2 separate regions of the Homo sapiens genome follow, and region 2 is linked to region 1. The links are contacts of gene promoters, found by promoter capture Hi-C in human tissues and cell types (Jung and others, 2019). All regions are on one chromosome and are shown on one strand. The core of a region is centred on a gene start or on the middle of the fragment in contact, and the rest is flanking DNA. Distances in the headings are between cores, read along the strand shown. Region 1 holds the start of MARCKS (myristoylated alanine rich protein kinase C substrate). Region 2 overlaps LOC105377949 (a long non-coding RNA gene).

Evidence for each region. Contacts are between HindIII fragments. The study calls those that stand out against the background at their distance.
Region 2: a fragment that was not itself captured here is called in contact with the fragment with the promoter of MARCKS in region 1 in 1 of the 25 tissues and cell types used here (bladder).

Annotation. Positions count from the first base shown.
Region 1 is chr6:113,855,855-113,858,875 of GRCh38, reverse strand. MARCKS (myristoylated alanine rich protein kinase C substrate) reads right to left here and starts at 1,531. Exons shown (of 2, transcript NM_002356.7): 1 at 1,029-1,531. The coding sequence starts at 1,130. RefSeq lists enhancers at 1,450-1,499, 1,287-1,830, 1,831-2,376, 2,647-2,696, 2,717-2,776. The HindIII fragment of the contact is 5,128 bases long and covers 1-2,873 here.
Region 2 is chr6:112,732,367-112,735,387 of GRCh38, reverse strand. The region is part of intron 2 of LOC105377949 (a long non-coding RNA gene); the gene reads right to left. All of the region lies in intron 2 of LOC107986634 (a long non-coding RNA gene), which reads left to right. Among named protein-coding and RNA genes, the nearest start is that of RFPL4B, 390 kb to the right of the region's middle. The HindIII fragment of the contact is 7,131 bases long and covers 1-3,021 here.

The sequences.
Region 1 (3,021 bases), core at 282-2,781:
TCCACGCCCACCTTCCCCTGCGATTCTGCGAAGCCTGGGCGCGCCTCGGCGGCTCATTTTGCATTTTTAACGGGTTTAAAGCCTCTTGGCAGACCTCGCTTTCCCCAGTAGGTTAGAGCAGGCGAAGCGACACGATCTCTTCTCTAGGAAAAGAGGCGTGGTGGGTGCCCAGTGTTTGCGAAGCAGCCACCCATGGCCGACCTCTCGGGTCCACCCAATCGTGGCTATCTGCCTGGGTCCGGGCAGCGCCGGGCGGCCCCTCGCGGGTGGTCGAGGCGCCACGCACAAGAACAATCCCGACCGAAAGGCACGAACCGCCTCTTTTTGACCATCTGGAAAGGTTCTTAAAGGACCCACCGAGTGTTCCCACCCCACAGATACCATTTAAAAATCAAATGGATGTGTAATTCCACAGACAGCTACGAATAAAGATTTAGGACAGTGGGAAAGCCTCATCAAAAGGTACCGAAGCCCTCTGTCTGGCCCCAGCCAGCCACCTTTCCAAGAACCCAGGGCACGCCGCCGCGGCATACAATAAGACAGCCTTTCCCTCCTCGCCTTTCTCCACCACCATCCCCATTGCGCCCCCCTTTCCCGACTCCCCCCCCCGCCACACACAATCACACCACCAGTTCAGAAATCTCGAAGACAATCCAGCTTCGACAACAAACCCGAGAGACACCCAAACACCATTGTGCCCCCAAACACAAATGAAACCTGGCTGGGGGCGGGGGAAGGAGGGCACCTAGCTAGTCACGTTCTGCCAATCTCCAAACCACGCCATTTTAGACGATTTATCACTCCTTTCCTCCCGTCTACTCAAGAATTCTCCAGGATTCTAAGGAACCACTCCTTTGGTGTGGGGGGACCCCGGCTATGAAAAATCCACAATTTAGGCTATCCATTTCCATTCAACTTTCAGACTAGAATCCAGCCACACTCCTCTCCACGAATGAGCCTTGGGAGCCACCAGGAGGGAAGGAGAGAAAGACACGAAATAAATGACCACAACCACAGGTAGAATTTACCTGTCCGTTCGCTTTGGAAGGCGACGAGGCCACAGCCGCCTCCCCAGGCCTCTCCGCGGCGGCTTCTCCCTTCGCTGCGGTCTTGGAGAACTGGGCACCCATGCTGGCTTCTTCAACAAAGAAACTCAACAGATCCAAGAGGGGAAACAAAGAGCCTCGGGTTGGTGTAACGACGGGGCGAGCAGCAGCAGCAGCGGCGGCGGCAACAGCGGCAGCGGCACACACACCGGAGGGAGGGGGGTGGGGGTGGTGGAGAGGACAGAACAGAACCGATTAAATACACTCCGGATAAAAAAATTTTAGTCGAAGAGATCAAAAAGCAGCAGCACAGGAGGGAGGGAAAAAGGGTGGAAAAGTCGAGCACAAAAAAAGGAGCCCAAGTGTAGTTCGAAAAAAAAAGAAGTAATAAAAAAATCCCAGATTTGTAGCCGCACTGTAGACAAGAGGAAAATGGAGAAATCTCCCTGGTTGCTAATAAGATGCGGGGTCCAACGCCCAAGTGCACAGATGAATGGGCTCGCGGGCGCTGACGCGGCCCCCGCGCGCGTCGGCCAATCCGCGCGCCGCACACAAAGCAGGGGGCGGGGTCTGCGCGCCTGGCGAACAATGGAGCCGCGCTTTGCAAACGGTTTGAAAATCAGCCTCAGACCGAGAATTAATGTCCTCCAAATAAATAAATCAATTAAAAAATACATGGCACTCGTCTCTCTCTGCTTGAAAATAATAATGCATTTCTTGATTGGCTTGCTTTGTTTGGAATTAATTAACACGGGAGGGGGGTACTTGTGCATCGGGGCGGAGAAAGCGTTAACTTGACTCGCATTGACTCTCGTCGGTCTATATCCGTGTGTCTCTCTCTCTCCACTCGCTCCCCTCCCCCATCTTTCCGTGTGTTTATGTGTATGTGTGTGTATGCGAGTGTTAAAGACAATGGTTGCGATTTGTGTGTTTGCAGCATGTTTTCTTTCTTTTTTCCATATTGGTTTTACAGATAATGCTCAGGGTTTGTTTTTTGAACTGCTGCAATGGTTAAATCGTCCCAAATTGAAAGGTATTTAAACCACGAAGATCGAATTTCATCAAGCGAGATCGCAAGTTAGAATTAGGTCTGTAGGCCAGATGTGGAAAATGCAAAAGCGGCAAACAGCGAAGCCACACTCCCTTCCCTCTCCCACATTGGCATGAAATAAAATATTTTGAGATTGGCCTTGGGCGCTCAACAAATTCCCCCTTCTCTGGCTATTCCCAATTAGTGATTTTTTTCCCCCACAATTCAAAGTGAGAGCCATTTACAGAAGATCGAAACTCTTCGCGTTTTATCACTGTTTTAAATGACATAATTTTCCTCTATGGTGAAATGAGACACAGCCTCGAGTAGACGAATCCATATTTACAGTTGGGATGTTATTCGCGTCAATATGGATCGTTTTCAGCCTACTGCCAGAATCGAATGGACTCTTTTTGAACGTGTGTGTGAGTGCGCACGCAGGCGAATGTGCTCCTGAAAGGAAGGGAGGCAGCAGCAACGATGACATTCTAAACCGGATTGCAGTTCTAAGGAGAAATGTTCTGTATGTTGAGAGATAGCAAGATCCCTGAGCTCTCCAAGTCTAACTTGGGTTAGAGGAAAACCTTCTATAATGGTACACAGGATACCTCCATCTGTCACTGCACTCCTTGCCACCGAAGTACCAGACGCTTTTTGTGCGTGAGAGACAAGGCACTGACTTAAAGTATGAGGGGTGAGGGGAACCAAGGAAACAGCTTAATAAGCATTTTCTTCCCAAAGTTTTCACTCGTGGCAAAATCAGACCACCTTTTCTCGTTTACATTTGGTGATCTTGCAAGGAATAATCTTTCGCTTATGAAGGTGAGAAGCAGTCGAGGGAATGGTTCATTTCTCCTGGTGCTGGCTCTGAATTCTCAAACAGTTTTATTTTCTGCTCATTGTAGGGAAATAGGTCACACTCTGAGTGAAAAAGACGGTTGGTTC
Region 2 (3,021 bases), core at 274-2,773, 1.1 Mb after region 1:
TAAAAGTAATAAATGATTAACAGATTAAACAAGAAGAATCAATCTCTAATTATGCTGAGTGAGAGAAAACTGTATGATTTTATTTTAGACAATGAAACCTAATCTGTAGAAACAGAAAGTAAATTAGTGGTTGCCTGAAGACATGGAGGAAAGAGAGATGGGTCATAAAGATGTATAAATAGGACTTACGGTCATTGATATGTCCATTTTCTTAATAGTAGTGATAGTTTTATTGGTGTATACATATATAAAAACCTTATCAGGTTGTATACTTCATAGATATGTGGTTTATTGTACTTTAGTTGTATCTCAATGAAGCTGGAAATAAAGTATTTTAAATTTTTTAAAGGTACTATTGAATTTGAAATCCATTTGTGTTTTGAAAAATTTCAACATTACTTTTATCAATAAAAAATGGAGAGTTTTATATTCTTTAAGTGTAATCCCAATTGTAAAATGTTTAATGCTTTAATAAATGATTTTACATTATTTATCACCTCCTGGCCTGAACCGTATGGCTTATCAATCACGGTCTTTTACAATTTTAAGAAAGCAAAATGAAAGTCCTGATTAGGAATTGTATGTAGTCACTTCAGATATAACATCCATTATTTAAAAAGAGAAAGCTGTGATCATGAATGAAAACTGACGGAAAGCTTTAATTTAAAAAATTGCATATAAATTTAGTGTGTAATACCTTCCTAATTATGTGTATGTTACTTTATTAAAATTATTTAATATAAATAAACCATGGCTTTTTTTTTTTTTTTTTACCAAGCCCCAGGTAACCTCTATCCAGCTTACTGTACAAAAATTGTCATTGCACTCTGATACAGTTTGGCTATGTCCCACCCAAATCTCATCTTGAATTGTAGCTCCCATAATCCCCACATGTCATGGGAGAGACCACATGGGAGTTAATTTAATCATGGGGGCGGGTTTTCCTCATGCTATTCTAATGATAGTGAATACAGCTCATGAGATCTGATGGTTTTATAAAGGGTAGTTCCCCTGCACACACTCTCTTGCCTGCCACCATGTAAGACGTGCCTTTGCTCCTCCTTTGCCTTCTGTCATGATTGTGAGGCCTCCCCAGCCATGTGGAACTGTGAGTCCATTAAACCTCTTTTTCTTCATACATTACCCAGTCTCAGTTATTTCTTCATAGCAGTATAAAAATGGACTAATATGAAATGAGCTAATTGTTTTTGGAAAGGTTAATCTTAATGAACTAACAGTGATTTAATAGTTGCAAATGCTAACTTTAAAAAAATAAAATACTGAAATTAGAGGTGTATTGAGTGATACATTTCCATTCCCATTATTAATTTAAAATATCCACAGAAAATGTAACTTAGATTTTGAACTCTGTATTGCATACTTAATTATCAAGAGTTTAAAACTGGGGTAAAATAAAGTGGAACAAAGAAACGTAAAAGAAGGAAAGCACAGGAATAGCTGAGCAACCAGCTCAAGAAGCCACAGCTACTCTGACTCATTCATATACTGGCTCAATATTGAACACATGAGTGTGTACAGAAGATTTTAAAATGTCCCACTGATATTTTCACATATACTTCAAACAGTAATTCACATATAAATTGCCATATATTGTTCATATATTTTAGTCATTAAATCTATTTTACATCTTATCTAAGTCATAATGATTATAGTGAATGTAGGCACAGATGCACATATATTTAGTCATATATACAAGACCGTTTCTCCTTTACAATGGAATTTTAAAATGTTTCAATTCGATAATGATACTATATCCCAAGCACTAAACACCAAGGAGACAAATATGGTATGACATAACTGACCCATAGGCCATCATCAGTTCATTAAAAGACACAATATGTAGGGCCTAAGCTAAGACAGGGAGGGTAAGGGTAGAAAAGAGCAGAGAGAAAGAAGCAAGACTTAAGCGTAGAATTAATAGATCTTGACAACCAAAAGGATGTTCATGGGGGTTATGAGATTGAGGAAGAGAAAGAGAAGATTCAATAACTGTTTGCATCAATTAAAAATAGTGTTTTTTCATAAAGATAGAGATTAAGAGGAAAAAAACAATTTGTGAGAACATATTTAGTTTGGTTATGGGCATGTGAAGTTCTTGGTGTAAGCATTTAATTCCAATCTGTATCTTACGAGGAGAGAGGCCAAGCAGGAAGTATGTTGATTTGGAATTTATTTATATATGTGTTAAATGTGGAAAGTAAAAAGTGAATGGTGTTGCTCATAGTATGAAATTCAGAAGAAAAAAGAAGCAAAGACTGAATTTCTAGAGAAAATCAGTTTTTTGAAAATAGAGAAATAAATGAAAGTCTGATAGAGAACAACCAGAGAAGGCAGAATCAGAGGGAGATAAAGTCCTGAAACATGAGTATGGTTGTTTCAAGTAGAAAGAGTAGGCTTAATTACCAAAAATGTCCAAGACAAGAGAAGAGGCTCCTGAATTAAACTAGTAAGAGGTGACTTATTAAACCTGCATAAGCCATAATTCAAGATAGATAGGATTTGGAGGCAGATCACCACTGGCTATAAAATCAAACTAGAAAGCCTTTGCCAGGATCTGTAGTAGACTTAAAAATTGTTTAATTTGCATCTTACCTCCCTTCTGAGTTTTGGGGGAGTCTCCATTATGTGTAGTGTTGGCAAGAGAAATTGCCCCACTTTTGTTACAGAGGCAACCAGAGTACAGGACATGTGATGAAGTCTTAGCTAATCATATACTCCCACCTAAGACTTTATATCTGGAGAGAATAAGCCAAAGACAAAGTGAAAGTTGTAATTCATTTGTAATAGTCCCACAACAGTGGAGACATCATCCTAGCTAGCCATGTTTCTCCTGGTGAAGATGGTTGCTGTATTTCTTATATCTCAATCTGAAACTGTCTTCTTAACGTATGCCTATTTTCAAACCTGTAGTCCAAGGTGCTGTTACGTCTACAAGCCCTGGAGAGTCTTTTAATAAGTCTAATTAGTTTTCATGTGCTAGGTGCAGTTAGAGTTTGCTGT